Regions from separate parts of the Homo sapiens genome. Here region 1 is linked to region 2. The links are contacts of gene promoters, found by promoter capture Hi-C in blood cells and fetal thymus (Javierre and others, 2016). All regions are on one chromosome and are shown on one strand. Each heading gives the region's core, a stretch centred on a gene start or on the middle of the fragment in contact. The rest is flanking DNA. Distances are from core to core; before and after follow the strand shown. Region 1 has its middle 13 kb from the start of PLD4. Region 2 holds the start of GPR132 (G protein-coupled receptor 132).

Region 1 (4,090 bases), core at 188-2,687, 150 kb after region 2:
TGTTGTGTTTTAGTAGAGACAGGATTTCACCGTGTTGGCCAGGCTGGTGTCAAACTCCTGACCTCATGATCCGCCCACCTTGGCCTCCCAAAGTGCTGGGATTACAGGCATGAGCCACCGTGCCCGGCCGGATGCTTAACTTTTTAATTTTCAGCTGCTCTTCTTTACTAATGTAAGTGTGTCAGGGATACATTATTATTTAGTTCTAAATATTTTACGTTTTCTTTCATTCATGAATGATTTAGAAATCTGTTATAAGGTTTCCAGATGTATTTTAACACTCTTCCTCAGTGAGTGATTGAGAGTTGAATTACATTTGGCTGAGAGAGTGAAGTCATATGACACTGGGTTTTGAAGTGTGTTAAGCCCTGCCTTATGTCTAAGCGTGTGCTCATTGTCCTAAGTGGGTTTTGAAGTGTGTTAAGCCCTGCCTTATGTCTAAGCATGTGCTCATTGTCATAAGTGGGTTTTGAAGTGTGTTAAGCCCTGCCTTATGTCTAAGCGTGTGCTGATTGTTGTAAGTGCTCCACACGTACCAGAGCATAATGTGTCCTCTCTAACGGTCACGTCTAGATATGGCTTTAAATCCAGCTCGCGAAATGTGCTATTGGAATCTTATTCACCTTTTATTAATGTTTTATCCGCTTGACCTGGCAGTCACTGAGAGAGTTGTGTTGAAATCTTCTTTTATGATAGAATTATCAATTTCTACTTGCAGTCTTCTTCATTTTTTCCCCATACTTATGGCTGTTTTCAGGTACATACATGTTTTGAATCTTTACATCCTCTGAACAATACTATTCATTATTATATACCGGCCTTCTTTTCCCTAATTATGGTTTTTGTCTTAAAATATATTTTTTTGAAAATCAATTTAGTGCTGGGCATGGTGGCTCACACCTGTAATCCCAGCACTTTGGCAGGCCAAGGCAGGTGGATCACCTGAGGTTGGGAGTTCGAGGCTAGCCTGACCAACATGGAGAAACCCCCGTCTCTACTAAAAATACAAAATTAGCACAGCGTGGTGCCGCACACCTGTAATCCTAGCTACTCGGGAGGCTGAGGCAGGAGAATCACTTGAACCCAGGAGACGGAGGTTGCGGTGAGCCGAGATTGCACCGTTGCACTCCAGCCTGGGCAACAAGAACAAAACTCTGTCTCAAAAAAAAAAAAGAGAATATTAGTTTAGCCACATCAGCTTTCTTTTTATTAATACTTGCCTGACCATAGCACTTGTAATATTATTATTTTAAACTCCATAAATTAAATGTTTATAAGGATGATATATTTAACTACTATAATTATATATTTGTCTAACTAGATATTATTTATCTAGTGAGAGTGTGTTTAGAATTATCCACTTTTAATGATTTCCTTTTAAAAATACTTTTATTTATTTATTTATTTTTTGAGACAGAGTCTCACTCTGTAGCCCAAGCTGGAGTGCAGTGGCATAACTCAGCTCATTGTAATCTCTGCCTCCTGGGCTCAAGCAATTCTCATGCCTCAGCCTCCTGAGTAGCTGGGACTCCAGGTGCACGCCACCATGCCTAGCTAATTTTTTTGTATTTTAGTAGGGGTGGGGCTTCACCATGTTGCCCAGGGTGGTCTCGAATTCCTGAGCTGAGGCGATCCACCCATCTTGGCCTCCGAAAGTGCTGGCATTACAGGTGTGAGCCACAGTGCCCAGCCACTTTTAGCAATTTCTTTATTCACTATTCCTTCTTTGACTTCAGCCTCTCCCTCTGTGATCATTGTCCTTCTTCCTGAAATATATCCTTTAAAGTCTACTTGAATATTAGTTTAGCTGGGTATAAAATTTTGGGTTGTCAATTGTTTTCCTTGAGTCAAGATGTGTTGGTAAACTCTTAGTTGTTATGTAACATAAAAATATTTCTAATTTTCCTTTAGTATTGAAAGATCATTTTTCTGGGTATAGAATTACAGATTGACAATTATTTTCTCTGGAAACTTTGAGGTCTTTAGGGTCCCATTGTTAAGAAATCCACCACCATTCATTTTCATTTTGGAGACAAAGTCTCACTCTGTCGCCCAGGCTGGAGTGCAAATGGCATGATCTTGGCTCATTGCAACCTCCACCTCCCAGGTTCAAGTGATTCTTCCACCTCAGCCTTCCAAATAGCTGGGTTTACAGGTGCACACTACCACACCCAGCTAATTTTTGTATTTTTACTAGAGACGGGGTTTTGCCATATTGGCCAGGCTGGTCTCAAACTCCTGACCTCAGGTGATCCACCCACCGCTGCCTCCCAAAGTGCTGGCTGGGATTACAGGTGTGAGCCACCATGCCTGGCCACCACCATTCTTTTGTAGAGAATCCTTCTTTACTATTGTGGCTGTTTTAAACAAATTTTATTATCTACAGTATTCCTCAATGTTACTGTGATGTAACTGTGTAGTTTTACTTTCATTTATTCTGTTTGGCTTCCCTTATGTTTTTGTATCTTCTGTGGATATATGTTGTATTCATTTCTAGGGTTGCTGTAGTGAAGTTCACAAACTGAGTAGTTTATGCAACAGAAATGTATTGTCTCACAGTTCCAGAGGCTGGAAGTCCAAACTCAAGGTGTCGGCAAGGTTAATTCCTTCTGAGGCTGTGAGGGAGGATCCTGTGGCTCTCTCATAATTTCTGGTAGCCCCAGGTGTTCTTTAGCTTATAGATGAAATTCTCCCTGTGTCTTCATGCCTTCCCTCTGTACATGTCTGTCTCAAATTTCCCCTACCATAAGGCATCAGTCACATGGGATTAGGGTTGTCAATAAAAAGAGTCAAATTCTGTAAACTATTTGAAGAGATTTATTCTGAGCCAAATATGAGTGCCTAATGGCCTGTGACACAGCCCCAGCAGATCCTGAGACATGTTTCCAAGGTGGTCGGGCTACAGCTTGGTTTTATACATTTTAGGGAGGCATAAGACATCAATCAATACATGTAAGATGTACATCGGTTTGGTCTGGAAAGGTGGGACAACTTGAAGTGGGGGCTTCGAGGTCAGAGATGGATTCAAGGATTTTCTGGTTGCCAGTTGGTTGAAAGAGTTAATATAGGCCAGGCATGGTGGCTCGCACCCGTAATCCCAGCACTTTTGGAGGCCAAGTTTGGAGGATCACCTGAGGTTAGGAGTTCAAGACCAGCCTGGCCAACATGATGAAACCCCATTTCTACTAAAAATACAAAAATTCGCCAGGCATGGTGGCACATGCCTGTAATCCCAGCTACACCAGAGGCTGAGGTGGGAGAATCGCTGGAACCTGGGAGGTGGAGGTTGCAGTGGGCCGAGATCACACCACTGCACTCCAGGCTGGGCAACAGAGCAAGACTTCATCTCAAAAAAAAAAAAAGAAAAAAAAGAGTTATCTAAAGACCTGGAATCAATAGAAGGGGGTGTCTAGGTTAAGATAACGGTTGTAGAGACCAGGGTTCTTACTATGCAGATGAAGCCTTCCAGGTAGCAGACTTCAGAGAGAATGGATTGCAGATGTTTCTTATCAGACTTCAATAGTCTGTTCTATCAGTCCTAATTTTAATCTTTCTGTTGAAATGTTAATGCTGGTCAGCTGTGCCAGAATTCCAAAGGGAAGAGGGTATAATGAAGCATCTGACCCCTAATTCGCATCATGGCCTGAGCTAGTCTTTTAGGTTAACTTTGGAATGCCCTTTGCTGAGGGGGGGATCCATCAGTCAGTCGGGAGCTTAGGTTTTTATTTTTGGTTTACCGGATCTCCCCCAATTACTTCATCTTACCTTGATCATCTGTAAAGGCTCTATTTCCAAATAAGGCCACATTCACAGGCACTGGGCATCAGGACTTTAACATCTTTTGAGAGACAATTTCATCCATGGTATGTGTCTTTCCCAGTTCTGGAAAATTCTGGCCTGATCTCTTTGAATATTTCCTGTGTCTCATCCTTTCGACTCCCTCATTCAGAAACTCCAGATAGATGTATGTTATATGTTGTCACGCAGTCTTCTATGCCTATTAACATGTCTTTCACATTTTCTATTCCCACCATGTTCCTGTGTATTGCATTTTGGGTAATTTCTTCTCATCTTTCTTACAGTTGACTAA
Region 2 (4,022 bases), core at 768-3,267:
TATGAATCGCTTTGCTGGGGTCAGAGCAGGGAGAGCCATCTCCCTGACGGGCTTCTCAGAGACAACACCCCAGGTGCCGCACAGCCCGGGGCAGCCTCCACTGGTCCCGAAGGCCCGGTGGGAATAGGCAGGGCCAGTCCACACCCCCAGGCTGTCAGTGTTTGGACTCCCAGGCTCCTGCCTGCCCTCCACCCCAGCCTGGCTTCTCCACCTGGCAGGGGCAGGGGAGCCGGTACACGGCTGCCAACCCCCCAGTTCATACCCACAGCTCCTGCCACCCAAGGGACCCAACTTTCCTTTCCCAGACCCCAGTGAAGGACCCAAAGAGAGGATTCAACTGACCTCACTTGAATCGGCTATTCCCGGACTGCCTGGCAAAGGCCAGAAGGCATGGAGGGTGACAATGGCCTGAGCCGGGTCCGCATGTCACTCCTGGACCCCTCACCGGGGGCGCAGAGGAGGCCTGGTGAACGTGACAGACCACCCAGTGGGGCGCAGGACGGGGCAGGTCCTAGGAGGCTGCTGGGGCCAGCGACAGGAACCCACAGCTGTCCCTGGCCATCACCCCCACTGGCCTGATGTGGGCTTCGTCTATTGCTGCTCCGAGGGTGGGGCTGCCCTGGCCCAAAGACCCGGGAGGCCAGTGACCCCATGAGCAGTGGCCTGTGGAGGCGTGTGTTTGCACCAGATCCCCTAGAGGATCACTGTCCCCTGGGCAAGTGTTTCTGGAAAGCCAAGGTAGGCCCTGCCCTGAGACCTGCGCCTCCCCGCCAGGGCAATGGGAAAGCCCAGCTTTCCAGGGACTCCACTGCCACCCACACAAAACCCTCTGAAATCGCTGTTCGGAGGCAGCCTCCAGCCATGCGGCCCTGCAGCAGGGGGCAGCTGTGATCCACGTGTCTGGGGGAAAGTGTAGACTGGGGGCTCGGCCTCCACCGGCCTCTCCTGGCCGTGGGTGTACCCACCCAGGATGGCGGCTTCTTCGCTCAGTGACCGTCCCTGCTGCGGTGCTGGGCAGTGTCGCTTGGAGACATTTGTGGTCCCCAGCTCCTTCCCTCAGCCCGGCCCTGTCCCCACTGCTGAAAGAGCCTGGCTTGGATGGAGCTTGGCAGGCTCGGGAGTGGGCACCAGGGTGGGTCTGTGCCCTGAAACTCAGAAGCAGCCTGGAGGTGAGTGGAGTTGTAGGTGCTGTCCACAGCCAGCTGGCTTTGTCCAAGGAAACTGGGCCCATCATGGCCGGAAGCCCCACAGTGAGGGGGACTGTCCCAGGCAACCCTGCCTGCCCACCCTCCAGTTCCCACAGGGCCCCTCACAGAGAAGCCCACCCGCAGGGCTCCTGGGCCAGGCCAGGCTTGGTTCTGGATGCAGGAGGGGTTGAGGTAGGGCTGGGGGAGGAATGTGGAGTGTGCAGTAGGCTGTTCTTCCCACACGGCCCTGCCCCATGTAGGAAGAGGGAGGCGGGGAGGGGAGGGTGCTTGTGTGCAGTGGCTGTGCCGAGCCTTCCAGGACATGCAGGTGCCATCCTGGTCCCGGGGCTGCAGTGGGCGCACTCAGCCTCTCTACTCCTGGCACCCCGGACAGGGACTCCTGGGAGGACACAGCCTCTGGGAAGTCACCCTGCTCCGTGCTTGCCTGGCCCGAGAGTGGGCAACACCAGGCCTGAGCTGCAGAGGAGCTGGATTTTGTCTTTCCAGGACCCCTCCCTGCAGCCTTTCCAGGACCCCTGTCCTGCCTTGCCTGTCTGGGGACACACGGACAGCCGCTGTGCCGCGCCAGGCCCCAGCACCTGCCTGGGAGCTCCTGAGTGAGTGGAGCCTGGCTCTGAGTGCTGCTATTGCTAAAAGAGGTAAGACTGGGGTTTCCTGCCACTCCCTCCCTCAGGAAGGTGACGAGGCCATGCTGTCATCACCAGTAAGATACCCCAGCCCGGTTGGCTAACCCCTAGCTCAGCCCTGTTTGTGGTTAGGGGAGTTCTAGACAGAACATAATTAGACCCCTGCTACTTCCTGAAACCTCAGCTAGGACTGCAGGGAGGGGTGCGAGGCTAGCCACGCAGGCGGGGCCCTGGGTAAGTCGCTGGGCTCTGCGTGCTGGGGAGTGGGCCTGGGGGGCCAGGCTCTGGGATGGGGCTGGGGGCTGGGAGCTGGAGGCGGGCAGAGGGGGATCTGAAGGCAAAGGTGATTTGTTGGTAAAGATGGAGGCTTTGTTGAGGGTTCTTAATCTGGGGTCCCTCCCGAGAGAACCCAGGACCCCCAGTGACCACAGATGTGATGGGGCCGGAGGATTTGGGGGAGAGGGACAACAGTTTCCATTGTATCTTTGTCACCGCCACCTTCCTGGAGACTTTCTTCTGGAAAAGGCTTCCCTGGCTACTGGTCCAGATGGGGGTGAGTCAGGGGGCTGGACTTTGTCCCTGGAATCTCTCCTTGGCCACTTGCTTCCGTGATTGGTCGGGGGGCACTGAAGGGCTGGGCTTCTCTCTGTGGGGCCTGTGCTGCTTGTGGGGTTACACAGAGGGAAAAGCAGGGCAGTGGGGGCTGTGCTGCGGTGAGTGGCAGTTGGCCCAGTCACGTGACAAGATCCTGGAGCTGGGCAGGTCACCGGCCTTTGGAGTGGCGTTCGGCGCACCAGGCACAGCGGGGCGGGGGGCCCAATACCTTCTGTCAAGTGCATGACGTGGGTCTGTACCACTGCAAGGGACTGGGACTGACCACTGAAGACTGGCCAGTTGGGCTGAGCACAAAATGATATTTCAGGAGATTGGCCAGGCCGAGGTGGGAGAGCAGAGGCTCCTGGAAGAAGATGAGGATAGGGGCTGGGCACGGTGGTTCATGCCTGTAATCCCAGCACTTTGGGAGGCCGAGGTGGGCGGATCACTTGAGGTCAGGAGTTTGAGACCAGCCTGACCAACATGGTGATACCCTGTCTCTACTAAAAATACAAAAATTAGCCGGGCGTGTTGGCACACGTCTGTAATCCCAGCTACTTGGGAGGCCGAGGCAGGAGAATCGCTTGAACCTGAGAGGCGGAGCTTGCAGTGAGCCGAGATCGCGCCATTGCACTCTAGCCTGGGCAACACTATCAAATTGGGAAAAATAAGAAAGTTGACAATGGGCTTTGGATGGGTGTGGTGGAGCAGGGAGGTTGGAGCTGGTGACTCCACATTTCCCTCCCTAGGGTTTGTCTCAAACGTGACGGCAGAAAAGAGGTCATAGGTTTGCCTGGTGCCAAAGCAGGTGGGAGTAAAAGACGGAAATGGCTAGGAATGGCCAGCAACCGTGAAACAGCTTAGAAATTACAGGCAATCCAGCCAGGTGCGGTGGCTTACGCCTGTAATCCCAGCACTTTGGGAGGCCAAGGCAGGTGGATCACCTGAGGTCAGGAGTTCGAGACCAGCGTAACCAATATGGTGAAACCCTGTCTCTACTAAAAATACAAAATTAGCCGGGCGTGGTGGCACACGCCTGTAATCCCATTTACTTGGGAGGCTGAGGCAGGAGACTCACTTGAACCCAGGAGGTGGAGGTTGTGGTGAGCCGAGATCGTGCCATTGCACTCCAGCCTGGGCAACGAGAGCGAAACTCTGTCTCAAAAAAAAAAAGAAAGAAAGAAATTACAGATAGTCCACAAGACAGACCTCAGCAGCCTGAGGAGCTGTTTTTGACAAATGGGCTGGAATGAGGAACTGCTCCCTGCACATGGCAGGGGCCAGGGCTCCTTCTCTGTCCTTTTGTGTCTGTCTGAAAAGTTCCATCATAAGTTACAAAACAGGCTGGGCGTGGTGGCTCACACCTGTAATCCCAGCACTTTAGGAGGCCGAGGCGGGCGGATCACCTGAGGTCAGGAGTTCAAGACCAGCCTGACCAATATGGCGAAACCCCTTCTCTACTAAAAATACAAAAAATTAGCCGGGCATGGTGGCAGGCGCCTGCTAATCCCAGCTACTTCAGAGGCTGAGGCAGGAGAATCACTTGAACCCGGGAGGCAGAGGTTGCAGTGAGCCAAGATCGTGCTATTGCACT

Evidence for each region. The method cuts DNA at HindIII sites, captures the fragments that hold promoters and counts their contacts. A CHiCAGO score of 5 or more calls a contact.
Region 1: a fragment that was not itself captured here is called in contact with the fragment with the promoter of GPR132 in region 2 in 1 of 17 cell types (endothelial precursors); the score reaches 5.3 in endothelial precursors.

The regions. Positions count from the first base shown.
Region 1 is chr14:104,909,970-104,914,059 of GRCh38, reverse strand. No RefSeq gene overlaps it. Among named protein-coding and RNA genes, the nearest start is that of PLD4, 13 kb to the left of the region's middle. The HindIII fragment of the contact is 8,040 bases long and covers 1-4,090 here.
Region 2 is chr14:105,063,425-105,067,446 of GRCh38, reverse strand. It overlaps GPR132 (G protein-coupled receptor 132), which reads left to right and starts at 2,017. Exons shown (of 4, transcript NM_013345.4): 1 at 2,017-2,068. RefSeq lists enhancers at 869-938, 1,149-1,318, 994-1,511, 3,189-3,328, 3,439-3,538 and 1 more. The HindIII fragment of the contact is 11,012 bases long and covers 1-4,022 here.